2 separate regions of the Homo sapiens genome follow, and region 1 is linked to region 2. Evidence: promoter capture Hi-C in 16 types of primary human blood cells and fetal thymus (Javierre and others, 2016). All regions are on one chromosome and are shown on one strand. The core of a region is centred on a gene start or on the middle of the fragment in contact, and the rest is flanking DNA. Distances in the headings are between cores, read along the strand shown.

Region 1 (4,934 bases), core at 591-3,090, 130 kb before region 2:
GAGAGTTCATAGCATTAAATGCCTACATCAAAAATTCTGAAAGAACACAAATAGACAATCTAAGCTCACACCTCAAGGAACTACAGAAACAAGAATAAACCAAACCCAAACCCAGCAGAAGAAAATAAATAACAAAGATCAGAGCAAAACTAAATAAAATTGGAACAAACAAAATACAAAATATAAGTGAAACAAAAAGCTGGTTCTTTGAAAAGATAAAATTGATAGACCATTAGCAAGATTAACCAAGAAAAGAGAGAAGATCCAAATAATCTCAATTAGAAACAAAATGGGAGCTATTACAACTGATACCACAGAAATACAAAAGATAATTCAAGGCTACTATGAACACCTTTATGCGCACAAACTAGAAAACCTAGAGGAGATGGATAAGTTCTTGGAAATATACAACCCATCTAGATTAAAACAGTAAGAAATAGAAATTCTGAACAGATCAATAACAAGTAGTGAAATTGAAACAGTAATAAAAACATTGCCAACAAAAAAAGCCCAGGACCAGATGAATTCATAGCTGAATTCTATCAGACATTCAAAGAAGAGTTGGTATCAATCCTACTGAAACTATTCCAAAAGATAGAGAAAGAGGGAATGCTTCCTAAATTATTATATGAAGCCAGAATTACCCTAATACCAAAACCAGGAAAAGACATAATTTTAAAAAAAAGAAAACTACAGACCAATATCCCTGATTAACATAGATGCGAAAATCCTCAACAAACTACTAGTGAAACAAATCCAACAGTATATCAAAAAGATAATACAGTATGATCAAGTGGGTTTCATACCAGGGATGCAGGACTGGCTTCACATACACAAGTCAATCAATGTAATGCACCACATAAACACAATTAAAAACCACATGATCATCTCAATAGATGCAGAAAAAGCATTTGACAAAATTCAGCATTCCTTTATGGTTAAAGCCCTCAGCAAAATCGGCATAGAAACGACATACCTTAAAGTTATAACAGCCATCTGTGACAAACCCACAGCCAACATTAAACTGAATGGGAAAAAGTTGAAAGCATTCCCCTGAGAACTGGAACAAGACAAGGATGCCCACTTTTACCACTTGTATTCAACATAGCACTGGAAGTTCTAGCCAGAGTAATCAGACAAGAGAAAGAAATAAAGGGCATTCAAATGGACAAAGAGGAAGTCAAACTGTCAATCTATAAATTCAATGCAATTCCCATCACTGTTTGCTGATGACATGATTGTTTACCTAGAAAACCCTAAAGACTCATCCAAAAAGCTGCTAGATCTGATAAATAAAGTCAGTAAAGTTTCAGGATACAAAATCAAGGTACACAAATTAGTAGCACTGCTATACACCAACAGTGACCAAGCTGAGAATCAAATCAAGAACACAACCCATTTTACAATGCTGCAAAAAATAAAATAGTTAGGAAAATATCTAATCAAAGAGGTAAACGATCTCTACAAGGGAACTACAAAACGCCACTGAAAGAAATCATTGATGACACAAACAAATGGAAACACATCCCATGCTCATGGACAGGTAGAATCAACATTGTGAAAATGACCATACTGCCAAAAGCAATGTATAAATTTAATGCAATTCCCATCAAAATACTATCATAATTCTTCACAGAACTAGAAAAAAATCCTAATATTCATATGGAAACAAAAAAGAGCCCACATAGCCAAAGCAAGACTAAGCAAAAAGAACAAATCTGGAGGTATCACATTACTTGACTTCAGACTATACTACAAGGCTATAGTTATCAAAGCAGCATGGTACTGGTATGAAAACAAGCATGTAGACCAATAGAACAGAATAGAGAACCCAGAAATAAAGCCCAGTACTTACAGTCAACTGATCTTTGACAAAGCAAACAAAAACATCAAGTGGGGAAAGGACACCCTATTCAACAAATGTTTGTGGGATAATTAGCAAGCCACATGTAGAAGAATGAAACTGGATTCTTATCTCTCATCTTACACAAAAATCAAATCAAGATGGATCAAAAACTTAAAACTAAGTCCTGAAACCATAAAAATTCTAGAAGATAACATCAGAAAAATTCATCTATTGGCTTAGGCAAAGACCAGGAACCCAAAAGCAAATGCAACAAAAACAAAGAGAAATAGATGGAAATTAATTAAACTAAAAAACTTCTACACAGCAAAATAAATAATCAGCAGAGTAAATAGACAATCCACAGAGTGGGAGAAAATATTCCCAAACTACGCATCCAACAAAGGACTAATATCTGGAATCTACAAAGAACTTAAAAAATTCAGCAAGAAGAAAACAAATAATCCCACCAAAAAGTGGGCTAAGAACAGAATAGACTACTCTCAAAAGAAGTTATACAAATGGCAACAAACATGTGAAATAATGCTAAACATCACTTTTATCATGGAAATGCAAATCAAAATTACAATGTGATACCACCTTACTCCTGCAAGAATGGCCATAATCAAAAAATCAAAAAATAATAGATGTTGGTGTGGATGTGGTGAAAAGGGAACTGCTGGTGGGAATGTAAATCGGTACGACCGCTATGGAAAACAGTATGGAGAATCCTTAAAGAACTAAGAGTGGAAGTACCATTCGATCTAGTAATTCCACTACTGGGTATCTACCCTGAGGAAAATAAGTCATTATATGTAAAAGATACTTGCACATGCATGTTTATAGCAGCACAATTTGCAATTGCAAAAATATGGAGCCAACCTGAATGCCCATCAACCAACAAGTGGATAAAGAAAATGTGGGATATATCTATATCTATATCTATATCTATATCTATATCTATATCTATATCTATATATCTATATCTATATATCTATATCTTTATCTATACCTATATCTATATATACACACACACCATGGAATACTACTAAGCCATAAAAAGGAACAAAATAATGGCATTAATATCAACCTGGATGGAGTTGGAGACCATTATTCTAAGTAAAGTAACTCAGGAATGGAAAACCAAACATCCTCTGTTCTCACTCATAAGTGAGAACTAAGCGATAAGGACGCAAAGGCACAAGAATGACTCTGGGGACTTGAGAGGAAGTGTAGGAGGGGAGTGAGAGATAAAAGACTACACAATATGTACAGTGTACACTGCTTAGGTGATGGGTGCACCAAGATCTCAGAAATCATCACTAAAGAACTTGTCCATGTAACCAAACACCACCTGTTCCCCCAAAAATATTGAAATAATTAAAAAATTTAAGAAAACCATGATAATGTAGTAAACCCCAAAACTAATTATAAAATCACTTTCACATACATTTCTTCATTTGGTTTTCGCAATAATATTCTGAGGTAGGTTTCAGATTAAGAAATTGAGAGTTAGAGAAGTTAAGTCATGTGTTAAAAGTTCTTACAGTTGGTAAGTCCATGCACTGATCCCATTGCTCTTCCCAACTTCCCATAGGTGATCAATCATACTACTACAATTTCCTTCATTCCAATAGGTGAATGGACAAGGGTTATCTTTCAAAAATCAGAAAAGCAGGTGAAAAAATTTGTTTTGAATTGTTGTCCATCCTATGGCACATTGTAATGGTGAAACTTTGGTGTATGATTTAGGTGATGATGCATTTGAACATGGAAGGAAGGGCAAGGACTCGGTCCTGGATCATGCTTCTCAAATGCTCATGCACAGATGGATCCCCTGGGTGCTCATTAAAGTGCAAACTTGGATTCCATATTTTCAGGTGGGACCTGAGCTTCTGCCTTTCTGTAGCTCCCTGCTGATGCTGATGCTGATGCTGCCAGTTTGTGGACCACACTTTGAGCAAGGGAGTAACTATATTTGTAGAGACATGATCATGTGCTATCTATTTGTGTCCTCTGAACTTACTGACTTCATTTTTTATTAAACAATAGGAGCAAAAAGGTAAGAACAGTGTATCTAGGGTAAAGGAATACATGAACAGTTATGCCAAAAAAAAGGAGTAACCGAGAGATTATTTAAAGTGTACGAGAAGATGTGCATAGGTTATGTGCAAATATGATGTCAATTTATATCAGGGACCTGAGCTTCCGAGAATTTTGGTATCCTTGGGGGTCCTGGAATTAATTACCCCCAACCCCTGCACAAAGGGCCAACTGTATTTGAAATTTTCTCTAGTAAAAAGATCCTGTCATTCCCTCCCACTGTGTCAGGGTGCTGGCTATTTAAGAGGACACGATTTAAAATATACCAGCATCCCCCTCCAACCAAACTTTTGGAGCAGTGTGTTGTGAGGAGAGCCCAGGAGGAGGCTGGGTTCTGAGACCCCTGTCCTAGACCTGGGTGGACGCCTCTTTGATGTCACGAAGAAAGGGTCTTTCATGGAGTCATATATGCTCTTTAAACCTCTGTTTTCAAATAGAAAATAACTATCTTGACCTTTTCTTCTTGCAGGCTGTGGCCTCACTCCAGAGGAGTCCAGGGCTCAGGTGGCCCCAGTACCTGTGGTTGGGGTTTGCCCTCAAATTTCTGTTCTTTGTTATCTCTTCCTCCTCTGCTGGTTTCGCCCTCAGACCAGCTCCCCTTCGACCACCAGCCATAAATGGGATACAATGTTTCCTTTTTCATAGCCCCTAGGAGAGAGGCTTTTTCTCCCAGTCATGGAATAACAGGCTCTCCTTCCAGCTGGATTGGGCCAGTTTATGTCATGGCTACTTACATCAATAGCATGGGGGAAAGCCAAGCACTGATTGGCCAAAGCCCGGACTCATGAGTCAATCAGTGGCAAGAGGAGGTGGGATCCTCAAGGAGGGCCTGGGCTTAGGAGAACCAGGCCTGGAGCTGGGGCAGGGCCCTCTTCCCCAGAAACAGGTGAGGGCAGAGCCTGGGCATACTAGAATTTTACATAGTATAGTAATATAGTATATTTTATGTAGTTCAGTAATTACTATACTAGCAATTAGAGAACGATCT
Region 2 (4,473 bases), core at 1,427-3,926:
CCGTGGATTTCAAGACGAAGCCTCAAGCCTTCATTACTGGGGTTCACAGGGCTCCATCTTCCCCTGCATCCTCCCTCCCACTGCCTGGGCTTTGGTCTCCCTGCCCTTCACTCACTCTCTGTCCCCAGGGCTTCTGTACATGCTGTTCCCCCATCCCGACACCATTCCACATCTGAGCTGCTTCTCCTTTAGATTCCGGCTTGACTGCCTGTCTTCTCCAGAGGAGTCTCTCCTAATTGCCCATCCCCCAGTCAGGATGCCACCCCTGTATCAACCACGACCTCCCCGCTCCCCTGTGCTGCCTGCAATAAAGCCATCAGTGCCGTGACTTGTTCAAAGTTGTCCACTCTAACAGGACTCCAGGATCACAGAGGCAGGGATCCCCTCCTGGAATCCAGTGCCTCACTCAGTGCATAGCAGGGTCTTAATCAACAATTGTTAGATGGGTGGATGGACAAACAGATGGATGAATGAAGGGGCACAGGGAGGGTCTGGTGGCTTCTATGGAGAGTTCCCAAAATGTCTCAAATATCTTTGCTAAAATGCAAGGACTTAAGGCACATTCTTAGGAGGTATCCAGCTGGAGTCAGAGATGCCTCCTTGTCCCTTGGGGAGCCAGCGAGCTCCTAGCCCCCGGGACAACTCAACATCTCCATGGAGGCCACTGTGGTGGTCGCTGGTGCCGGGTCCACAGGCGTTCACTGTGTTCTCCACCGTGGCGCTTCTTCCCCTGGGGCCCTCACGGTCAGTGCAGAGCACCAAAGAGTTGCCGCTGTGTAGAGAATTCTTATAATTGTGCATTGCATCCATTTTGAATCTAATTTGGACCCTCTCCTACCAGAAGCAGGGTTTATTGCTCTTGACACGGTGTCTAGGGCTCCACCCCCTCCCAGTTCCTCAATGCGGCCAACCCAGATATCTGCCTTGTACACCCACCTCCTGGTGACCATTTCCCTGTGGGACAGGCAGATACAGCCCATTTGATGGTCTCAGTGACTCCACACCCCACAGGGACTTCCCAGACATGCCGCCATGCCCACCTCTCAGCCACAGGGACCCCACGGAGCCCGTGTCTGTTTGCTCTAAACCCACCAGTGAGAAGTCCCCTTGGGAAACCTGCTTGGGAAACGTCCTGGACCCCAATAAAGGCTTAGGACCCAGGTCTCTCTCTCTCCCTTCACCCCCCTCCAGGTGAGTGTTTGTGACCCAGACAGCTCCCCACTTTTTGCTGGCCCCGTGGGGTGCACTGCCCTCTCCCTGGGATCTGTAAGTGACACGGTGCTTGTGTTGCTTCCTGTGTCTTCTTGTGCTGCCTCCTGCATCTCCCCTGACCCACACCCCAACCCAACTCTCCTCCCATCAGGGATCTCTTAGGAAGTGGCTGTCTTGATAGGAATAAACTGGACATGGGTCAGACGAGAGCCACAAGGGTGTCTGTCCATAGAAACAAGTTTTATGTGAGAGAGACCCCTGGTCACTGGGCAGGGCTAGAATTTATAGTCAGTCTCTCAAAGTGAGAGATACAGCCTGCTACCAATGACAGGGGACTTGGAGAGCAGTGGAGCCTCTCCCTCAGCTGAGATGGTGCTGAGGTGTGGTCCCCTCAGGCCCCCAGAGTTTCCTGGCACTGGCTCCAGCAGCCCAGGGTCACCTTCTCAGCAAGTCATCATGGGTTGGCTTCCTCCTTGTCTGTTTCACTTCCCCTCCCACATAAACTAGTCTCCCCAAATCCTGTCTCAGGGTCCCCTCCTGGGGGATCCCAACCAATGAGCAAAGGTCTGTGGCTGCAGGAAAAGCACACTGTGAGTCCCTGGCTTTTGCCGAGTCGCGGTGTCGCGGGAGGGCCTGCCCGGGCTTCGATTCCCGCTCCCTGCCCAGATTTCCGGCCCTTGCTAGGAATCCTGAGCCGGGGGAAGTGAGCCTGCAAGCCCTGCGCCACGAGGCCGGACACATTTTCATTTTCTTTCTGATGCTTTTTGTGACCCTGACACCTCACAATGCAATATTTCCACTATGAAACCCCCAGAACTGCCAAATTTCACCCAATTTGGATTAACATTATCGAGGAGCTTGGCATTATGTTGAAAACCCAGACATTCCCACGACCCGTATCCTATTTAAAAAATGCCTGTCTATTTAAGGTTCACGATGGGAGGATAAAAGAAAAAAGGCTCCCAAAGTCAACAGAGAACATGAGCTAGGCAAAAGGAAAGTCCAGTTTGCTTCTAAAAAAGGCTGAAAATTATAACCATCCATGGCCTTGTGTCTTAAGTCTCAGAATTTTTTTTTTCTCTTTTGGTGGTTTGCAAACCAAAGTGGAATTTTATTATGGGTTACTAAGGGAGCTTCCTCGAGTTCCTAGCCCCCAAAGCCCCTGCTCACTCCATGGCATGCCTCCGAGGCTCCTCATGCCATGAGAAAGAGAATGGAGCCAAAATCAAGCCGGCAGTATCTCGGGGCTGTAACGTCTTCCCCCCGTCGCTGTTTCCACAGTGCTGAGCCAGGGACCCGGCAGAGCTGCCTGACTCCTTTTATGAACAACAGCACCGTGATGAAGGCAGCAGGAGTCAGAGAACTATTCATTGCAGGAAGCCCCAACATCCGGTGAGAAATAAGAAGTACAACAGTACAGGATGCGCCTTGGGTCAGGGGGACGTGGAAAGCCCTCAGCCTTTGTGTCCTTCTCTGCGCCGGAGTGGCTGCAGCTCACCCCTCAGCTCCCCTTGGGGCCCAGCTGGGAGCCGAGATAGAAGCTCCTGTCGCCGCTGGGCTTCTCGCCTCCCGCAGAGGGCCACACAGAGACCGGGATGGCCACCTCCATGGGCCTGCTGCTGCTGCTGCTGCTGCTCCTGACCCAGCCCGGGGCGGGGACGGGAGCTGACACGGAGGCGGTGGTCTGCGTGGGGACCGCCTGCTACACGGCCCACTCGGGCAAGCTGAGCGCTGCCGAGGCCCAGAACCACTGCAACCAGAACGGGGGCAACCTGGCCACTGTGAAGAGCAAGGAGGAGGCCCAGCACGTCCAGCGAGTACTGGCCCAGCTCCTGAGGCGGGAGGCAGCCCTGACGGCGAGGATGAGCAAGTTCTGGATTGGGCTCCAGCGAGAGAAGGGCAAGTGCCTGGACCCTAGTCTGCCGCTGAAGGGCTTCAGCTGGGTGGGCGGGGGGGAGGACACGCCTTACTCTAACTGGCACAAGGAGCTCCGGAACTCGTGCATCTCCAAGCGCTGTGTGTCTCTGCTGCTGGACCTGTCCCAGCCGCTCCTTCCCAGCCGCCTCCCCAAGTGGTCTGAGGGCCCCTGTGGGAGCCCAGGCTCCCCCGGAAGTAACATTGAGGGCTTCGTGTGCAAGTTCAGCTTCAAAGGCATGTGCCGGCCTCTGGCCCTGGGGGGCCCAGGTCAGGTGACCTACACCACCCCCTTCCAGACCACCAGTTCCTCCTTGGAGGCTGTGCCCTTTGCCTCTGCGGCCAATGTAGCCTGTGGGGAAGGTGACAAGGACGAGACTCAGAGTCATTATTTCCTGTGCAAGGAGAAGGCCCCCGATGTGTTCGACTGGGGCAGCTCGGGCCCCCTCTGTGTCAGCCCCAAGTATGGCTGCAACTTCAACAATGGGGGCTGCCACCAGGACTGCTTTGAAGGGGGGGATGGCTCCTTCCTCTGCGGCTGCCGACCAGGATTCCGGCTGCTGGATGACCTGGTGACCTGTGCCTCTCGAAACCCTTGCAGCTCCAGCCCATGTCGTGGGGGGGCCACGTGCGTCCTGGGACCCCATGGGAAAAACTACACGTGCCGCTGCCCCCAAGGGTACCAGCTGGACTCGAGTCAGCTGGACTGTGTGGACGTGGATGAATGCCAGGACTCCCCCTGTGCCCAGGAGTGTGTCAACACCCCTGGGGGCTTCCGCTGCGAATGCTGGGTTGGCTATGAGCCGGGCGGTCCTGGAGAGGGGGCCTGTCAGGATGTGGATGAGTGTGCTCTGGGTCGCTCGCCTTGCGCCCAGGGCTGCACCAACACAGATGGCTCATTTCACTGCTCCTGTGAGGAGGGCTACGTCCTGGCCGGGGAGGACGGGACTCAGTGCCAGGACGTGGATGAGTGTGTGGGCCCGGGGGGCCCCCTCTGCGACAGCTTGTGCTTCAACACACAAGGGTCCTTCCACTGTGGCTGCCTGCCAGGCTGGGTGCTGGCCCCAAATGGGGTCTCTTGCACCATGGGGCCTGTGTCTCTGGGACCACCATCTGGGCCCCCCGATGAGGAGGACAAAGGAGAGAAAGAAGGGAGCACCGTGCCCCGTGCTGCAACAGCCAGTCCCACAAGGGGCCCCGAGGGCACCCCCAAGGCTACACCCACCACAAGTAGACCTTCGCTGTCATCTGACGCCCCCATCACATCTGCCCCACTCAAGATGCTGGCCCCCAGTGGGTCCCCAGGCGTCTGGAGGGAGCCCAGCATCCATCACGCCACAGCTGCCT

The links. Contacts are between HindIII fragments. The CHiCAGO score rates a contact against its expected background, and 5 or more counts as called.
Region 1: a fragment that was not itself captured here is called in contact with the fragment with the promoter of CD93 in region 2 in 5 of 17 cell types (neutrophils, monocytes, M2 macrophages and 2 more); the score reaches 28.1 in neutrophils.

What each region holds. Positions count from the first base shown.
Region 1 is chr20:23,215,355-23,220,288 of GRCh38, reverse strand. No RefSeq gene overlaps it. Among named protein-coding and RNA genes, the nearest start is that of LINC03125, 70 kb to the right of the region's middle. The HindIII fragment of the contact is 8,690 bases long and covers 1-4,934 here.
Region 2 is chr20:23,084,527-23,088,999 of GRCh38, reverse strand. CD93 (CD93 molecule) reads left to right here and starts at 2,676. Exons shown (of 2, transcript NM_012072.4): 1 at 2,676-4,473. The coding sequence starts at 2,808. RefSeq lists enhancers at 846-985, 2,513-2,692. The HindIII fragment of the contact is 6,182 bases long and covers 1-4,473 here.